Linked DNA regions of Homo sapiens: region 1 is linked to region 2. Evidence: promoter capture Hi-C in 16 types of primary human blood cells and fetal thymus (Javierre and others, 2016). All regions are on one chromosome and are shown on one strand. The core of a region is centred on a gene start or on the middle of the fragment in contact, and the rest is flanking DNA. Distances in the headings are between cores, read along the strand shown.

The links. Contacts are between HindIII fragments. The CHiCAGO score rates a contact against its expected background, and 5 or more counts as called.
Region 1: a contact is called between a fragment that was not itself captured here and the fragment with the promoter of LYAR in region 2, in 1 of 17 cell types (fetal thymus). The highest score is 7.7, in fetal thymus.

The regions. Positions count from the first base shown.
Region 1 is chr4:6,908,736-6,912,147 of GRCh38, reverse strand. TBC1D14 (TBC1 domain family member 14) reads right to left here and starts at 2,322. Exons shown (of 14, transcript NM_020773.3): 1 at 2,197-2,322. RefSeq lists an enhancer at 1,586-1,655 and a silencer at 1,896-2,955. The HindIII fragment of the contact is 1,491 bases long and covers 1,326-2,816 here.
Region 2 is chr4:4,288,152-4,291,672 of GRCh38, reverse strand. It overlaps LYAR (Ly1 antibody reactive), which reads left to right and starts at 1,519. Exons shown (of 10, transcript NM_017816.3): 1 at 1,519-1,637. ZBTB49 (zinc finger and BTB domain containing 49) reads right to left here and starts at 1,422. Exons shown (of 8, transcript NM_145291.4): 1 at 1,321-1,422. RefSeq lists enhancers at 2,494-3,031, 3,032-3,521. The HindIII fragment of the contact is 4,525 bases long and covers 1-3,476 here.

The sequences.
Region 1 (3,412 bases), core at 822-3,321, 2.6 Mb before region 2:
AAGTGCTGGGTTTACAGGCATGAGCCACTGCGCCCAGCTGAAACTTTATTTATACGTGGTCCTAAAACAAATGTTAAGCTGGCCATGGTGGTGCGTTCCTGTAACTGCAGCTACTCGGGAGAATCGCTTGAGCCGAGGAGTTCAGATCCAGTCTGGACAATATACCATGACCCCATCTCTAAAAAAAAATTTTTTTAAAGTTAACAAACACATACTCACTTTCCTAAAATCCTGTTGCGTTATGTATTAATGTTTATACTGACAACAAATCTTTTCCAAGGTCTCAAAGACTCCCCAAGCAACCCCCGACCTGCACGGCAGGCATCCCCTGTGCTGAGGCTGGGACTCAAGGTTAGAAGCTCTGACCAACGGGAGAGAGAGATTCAAACAAGCTGCTCTGACTAGCTGTGTCCCCACTTTGAGAGAGGCCTTCTATAGCGCACCAGCTAAGCAATCAACCCAGAGTAGAGGAGGGAAGGTGGAGGCATGAAAGACAGGAATTCACCCACTAAACGGGGAGTGGGGTGGAGACAGCGGACCCAATGCAGAGGAACTGCAGGGGCTAAAGGAACACAGGGGAACAGCAGAAGCCAGGAGAGGCAAAGCCCAAGCTGAATGTGAGAGGGTAGGCTGGGGGCAGACGGTGAAAACTCAGTTGCACAAACAGGAATCAGGCCCAGCTCGGTGCAAAGTGCTGGAACAGCGGAGGATACCGAGGTGAGCAGAGCCTGGCCCAGTAGCCTGCCTCAGTTTGAATCCCATCTCTGACTCTCCCCATGTGGGTGGCTCCCAGCCAGTTACTCTGTCTCCCTTAGTACCAGCTGACACCCTTGATGTTTCCCAAAAGGTGTTTTCGCCCAATGACCCTGAGCACCAAGTTCATGCCAGGCTCTCATTAGGACTGGGGATCTCATTAGGATTGCGGAGCCCACAATCTCAAGGGGTCAAACACACAGCAAAGAAGCAGTAAGAGGGTTGGTCGGAGGGGGGAAGCCATACCCAAACTGAGATATGGGTTGGTACTGGCCAGATAAACTGGGCAACAGGAAGTGTTCTAAGACTGCTGTAAGGACTAGCCCGGTCCAGACAAAGCAACCACCAGTTTCCAACAGGCAACCCACCGCTATAAAAGCTAGGCAAGACAGCAACTAGGTGCCAACATCCTACAATACTGGGGACAAGACAGTGAGCATTTTGTCCCCAAGACACCACCACGACTACCCTCCTCATCTAGCCTCAGTGCGTGAAATAACCAAGGTGATGCCCAGGGACCTCCAGTAGGGGCAAAACGCACCGGTGCCTATAAAACCTTCCCAAGCAAAGCTTCCAATTCCACGCTAGAGAAAACGGCGTCCTATGCAACTTTAGGACAGAAACGACTTCACGTGGCCTGGTCAGGCGCGGTCACCCCGGGGCTCGCAGAGGCTGGCTCTGGAGTCCACAGGGTCATTCTCCTATCCTCCTGACCAGCTGTTCCCATCAGGACCGCAACCCACAGCCTAGAGAGACTCCTGGCGGGAGGGAGACCAGGAGTCCCCGGACTTACTCCTCAAGGCAGCTACCCCGGCCCCGAGACAGTCCCCGGGCCAGGGTCTTCGCGGCCCGGTAATGGGAGGCTCCAAGGCGGAGGCAGAGAGATTCCCTAGCCCAGGGACAGACGGTTCGCGTGGGTGGAGGTCCAAGGAGGTCAGGGCTCCGAGATGAAAGGGGGTTTCGCGGGTCAGGGGCTCCAGGGGTAGAGGGGTCAGAGATGAAAGCGGGGTCAGGGGCTCCAAGGAGGAGGGTCCGCTGCCTGGGGACTGAGGGTCCGAGGTGGAAGGGGGCTCCGGGGTCGGGGTCTGGCGCACCGAGGCGCCTCTTCTCAGGCCGGGAGCCTCGCGTCGGAGTAGGAAAACTTTTCGTCAAGTTCCGTAAAGGAGCGGGACACAGCGCGCGCCTCCGCGAGGGCCGCCGAGTCCCGAGAGTCGCCCCCGCCCCGGAGGCCCCGTAACGGCACCCCGGGCGCCACGCACGCGCTGCCCTGGCGTGCAGGAGCCGCGGCCGCGCGGCGAGGGACACCCAGCAGGACCCGCGCCCGGCGACCTGCCTCGCCCCGGCCGCTCCCCGCCTCGGCCGGCGCTGCAGCAGGTGGCGGCCCCGCGCGCCCTGCCCTCCCTCGCGGCCCGCGGCCCGGCCCTCGCGGGAGGCTCTCAGTACCGGAGTTAGCGCGGCTCCGACGCCATCCCCGGGACCCGTGGGCCCGCAGCCCAGGCCCCGCGGGACCGGCAACTCGCGCGACGAGGACGCCGGGCACGCGGTAGGCAGCGGGTCCGACCCGCAGGTGCGCGCGAGCAGCCCGCGGCGAACAGCGGCGCGCACCCTCGCTTCGCCCCGCCCCCTCGCCCGCCCCCTGGGCACGCCCCCACGCACTTGCGCCCCGCCCCCTGCCGGCCCGCGCCCGTTCTTCCGCCCGTGCCGCCGCGTCTGGAGCTCGGCGCTCGCCCGGCTGTCCCTCTTCCGGGGGCCGCCCGCCGCGGGCCTCCGGAGCGGCGTCGCCGGCCCTTTTTTTTTGCCGGAGAACCAACCGGAGTGGCGAGGAGCTGCCTTGAGCGGGCCTTTGTGCCCGCAGGGCCCCCACGGACATCCGACAGGGGGCCCCTTACCTGGTCGGCTCCACCCGCAGCCATCTTGGAAGTGGGAAGCGGCCGGGAGGGGGAAGGGGCTCGAGCGGGCAGGGCTCAGGCGTAGGGAGCCGAGCGGCGGAGCGCATCGATGGGGCTCCCCTGCCCCGGCCGGTGTGCGGGAGACGGCCCGGGCCCCGCCGCGGAAGGGAAGCTTTGCGTGACACCGGAGCTCAGGCCCCGCCGCGGTGGTCTTGGGAGCGGCGCCGTGGCGTCCTCCCAGCCAGCCTCAGTCTCTTAATCTATAAAGGGCTTTTCCGAACGTTCTCTCTTATCGCGCTGTGACACGGTGCCTGGCGCTGTAGTTCCCAAACTGGTCTGCACTTTAGTATTGCCTGCGGAGCTTTTAATATTCTGAAGCCCAGGCCGATTAAGTCACAGTCTCTGAAGATGAGATGGAAGCATCATCAGTTTGGGAAGCTGTGTAATGTGCACGCGGGTTTGGAAGCCACTGGCCTGGCGTTATCTGCATATTTGGCCTCAACATTGCACAAACTCCAGAGACGGGATCTATGATCAGAGCCATTGTACAAAGCGGGAAACGGGCTCAGAGATGAAGCCCTCCGCCCAAGGACCCGGGTGGGTCAGTAGCTGAGAGGGGCAGAAGCCAGGTTCCCTGCCCCAGAGCCCTCCATGAGCTGGTAGAGAGTATGTGAGGAGCCCCTGTTGACGGGCAGTGGGTCTCCATTCCCCTTCTAGGCTGTGGGTTCCATGAGGAAAGCCGGGCTTATCTTGTTTACTGCTATTTTCCC
Region 2 (3,521 bases), core at 270-2,769:
CAAACCCAAAAACAGTACGAGAGCACAAACAAGACTGAAGTACACATATGTGCCCTGAACACAAAAAACATCTTGAGCACCCTGCTTTTAAGCCTCCTGGCCATTCTGTCACTTCTGTTGGAAAGTATTTCCCTCCTTGTCCATTTCTGTGAATTCCTTCTGTTATGGTTAAACTGTTCCCCCAGCACTCCAGAATGTGATTGTATTTGGAGATCAGGCTTGTAAGAAGGTAATTAAGTTAAAATGAGGCCATTAAGGTGGGCCCTAATACAACCTGACTGACGTTCTCATAAAGAGGAAATCTGGATGCAAAGAGAGACGCCAGAGATGTGAAAACACAGAGGAAAGACCATGCGAGGACACAGCAAGAAAGCAGCCACGTGCAAGCCAAGGAGAAATGTCTCAGAAGAAACCAAACCTGAAGACACCTTGATCTTGGACTTCTAACCTCCAGAACTGTGAGAAAATAATAAATTTCTGTTGTTTAAGCCACCCAGTATTTTGTTTGCAGTCCTAGCAAACTAATACACCTTCTATTCCAGGCCCAACACTGCTCACTTTCAGAGTGAAACCTTATCACCCATATACACACACCTTGGGAGTGAAGGTTTCTCACAATACTCTGTGCATCCTCCACTCAACTTTCATTCATTCATTTAAGCAACAAACACCTAGTGACCACCACTGTGTGCCAGACCCTGTTTTAAGGGCTGAGAAGAGCTAACGTTTATTGAGTACTTACTAAGTGGCAGCCACTAGTCTAAGCGATTTACATGCACCAACTCATGAAATACGACAAGGTTCCAGGGACGCAGGTGCCGCTATGACATTCGCTTTACAGATGCGGGGCTGAGGCACAAAGAGGCCACACCGTAATGAAACTGAGCTAGGCTGTGGGCTCTGTCGTCTTAAGCGCTACTCTCAACTACAGCGTGGAAGGAAACAGAAGCCGAGAGATGGGCAGCGCGTAGCGGAGGCGGGCCGGGCTGGCTTCCAGCGGGCAAAGCCTGGAGATGAGAGGGCGCGGGTGGGGTTTCCAGGCCGAGGAAGCTGCACCAGGGAGAAGGCCCGGCTCCCAGGCCCGGAACCTGGCCGTCTGGGTCTCAGTCCGCGTCCCCTGTGATGCCCGGCACAGAGCAAATGCTCGCTGACTCTCGCAGGAGCCGCCAACCCCCCGGGTATCCTCGAGTGCCCAGAGACGGGAAGGAGCGGTGGGTCCATGCCCTTCTGGGCCACCTTCGGGCGCCCGGCCTCCCTTCCCTTCCGGGCCATTCCCACCAGCGCCAGCCCCGCACGCCTTCGCAAGGCCGGCCACCTTACCCTCGGAGGCCGCTCTCTGCCCCGCCGCCTACTCTTCACCTGCAGCAGCTGCCTTCAAGGCCACTCGCAGCGATCCGCTGGCCGCGGAATCATCACGACAACGCCCCCTTGGCTTGCCGGAACCGCCTTCCTGCTTCCGTTGGCGTCACTTCCACTGGGGGGGGCGTGGCCGCGGTGCGCAGGCGCGCTGGGTGGTTCAGAAGCGAATTCTGCACCGCGAAGCCTGAGAGGCAGGTAGCTGCGGCGCTGGGCTGGCGGCGGCGAGTCCACGTGCTCCCCGCGGCCGGTTGAAACCGTTGGCGGGCGCTGGCTGAGAGGTGAGGGGTGGTGGCCCAGAGGTCCGACCTGGGAGGCTGGGGCTCAGAGAGTGAGTAGGGGAGGGACGGGATTTCCACCGTCAGCCCCTCTGGGTTACGCATGGAGGAAGGAGTTCCATTCAGATCTCACTCCTGCTCTGGGGAAGTGGCAGGAGTCCTGGACTTAGGGTGACCAACTCGTTTTAGTTTTAAAACTTAAGGTCCGGCGTCCTGGGAACTCCCTCGGGCCTGGCCAAACCAGGACGATTGGTCACCGCCCGACTGGGCTTCAGGCTTGCTGCATGTTGGAGACAGGGCTCTTCTCTGAGCCTTGGGAGATCAGTCCCTAAAGAGGAGGCCTTAGGATGTAGCGGTCCAGAGCACATACTTAGGATCAGAATAACTACTGCGTGTGAATCTGGGTTGCCACTACCTGGATGTGGGATGACCTGGTGTAAGTTTTTTAACCTCTTTGCGCCTCACTTTCCTCATCTGTCATAACATATAGAATCTAACTCGGAGAACTGTGATGAGGATTACATGAGTAGAAATGTGTTAACCTCCTATGAGAGGGCTTGGGTGCTCCATGAATGTTAGGATTCTCTGAAGCACCTACCTCTGAGGAGAGAGGGAGGAGGATGAGGTGGGGTCTGTATTTGCAACCCTGATTTCTAGCAGAGAGGGCCCACTTGGGACTTACTCACACTGTGCCCGAGGCTCCCAGGGTCTAGCATAGTGCCTGACACATGGTAGTTACTCGAGTGAAGGGATGGTGTTTAAAACAGTGCTGGTGATGCCGTGGGTGGGGTAGGAGGCAGAGAGAAATGGCTTCTGTGCCTCAGTTTGCTCATCTGTTTAGTGGAGATAGGTGCACCTACTTCCCAGGGCTTTTGCAAGGAACAAGGGAGAGATTCTCTCCTTGTGAATGTCACCCATTGTAACCCTTGTCAGCCTCATACACAAAGGTTTAGGCAGGATGGTGGACAGAGTATGTTTGTCTGTCCTTCTCTTGCACCATACCCATGGTTTCTCAGAATGCTACCCGTGGAAGGGGCTTGAGTCTTGTCAAGTTGGCCTGACTTCTTGTTTCACAGATGAGATAACTTGAAGTTTATAGAGGCAGTGGCATGCTCAGGGTCACAGTGTTCAGTGGGGGATATCCTGGGGTTGCCAGCTAGGCCCCTCAGGTGGGCTGTTTGAGTGGTAGTGGTGGTAATGATGTGTAGGTCAGTGTCTGCATGTGCATGCAAGAATATTTTAAGAATAGTCAAGGCCAAGCGCAGTGGCCCGTGCCTGTCATCCGAGCACTTTGGGAGGCCGAGGAGGGTGGATCACCTGAGGTCAAGAGTTCACAACCAGCCTGGCCAACATGGTGAAACTCCGTCTCTACTAAAAATACAAAAATTAGCCGGGCATGGTGGCATGTGCCTGTAATCCCAGCTACTGGGGAGGCTGAGGCCGGAGAATCACTTGAACCTGGGAGGCAAAGGCTGCAGTGAGCCGAGATTGCGCCATTGTACTCCAGCCTGGGCAACAGAATGAGACTCCGTCTCAAAAAAAAAAAAAAAAAGAAAAAAAATTGAATAAGTAATACAAAAATATAGAGGGAAGAAGATTTAAAAAAAATCATTCCAATCTCAGAACCAAACCTAAGGGCATGTTATCAGGGAACTTGGTAAAGTAGGCAGCCATGGGGTGAGGAGCCAGAGAAGGTTGGAGTGAATTTATGAACATAAATGGGTGGGTTGATGGTCATATTTAAAGGAGCATGGGTTTAGGAGGGGGCTGGGTATAATAGCATTGATGTGCAAATTAGTAGGTCACAGAGAAACCTTTCTACAATTGGGCAGGGATGAAGCTTTCATATCTGGTGTCTTATTTAACTTTCCACCCAATGCTTTGAGT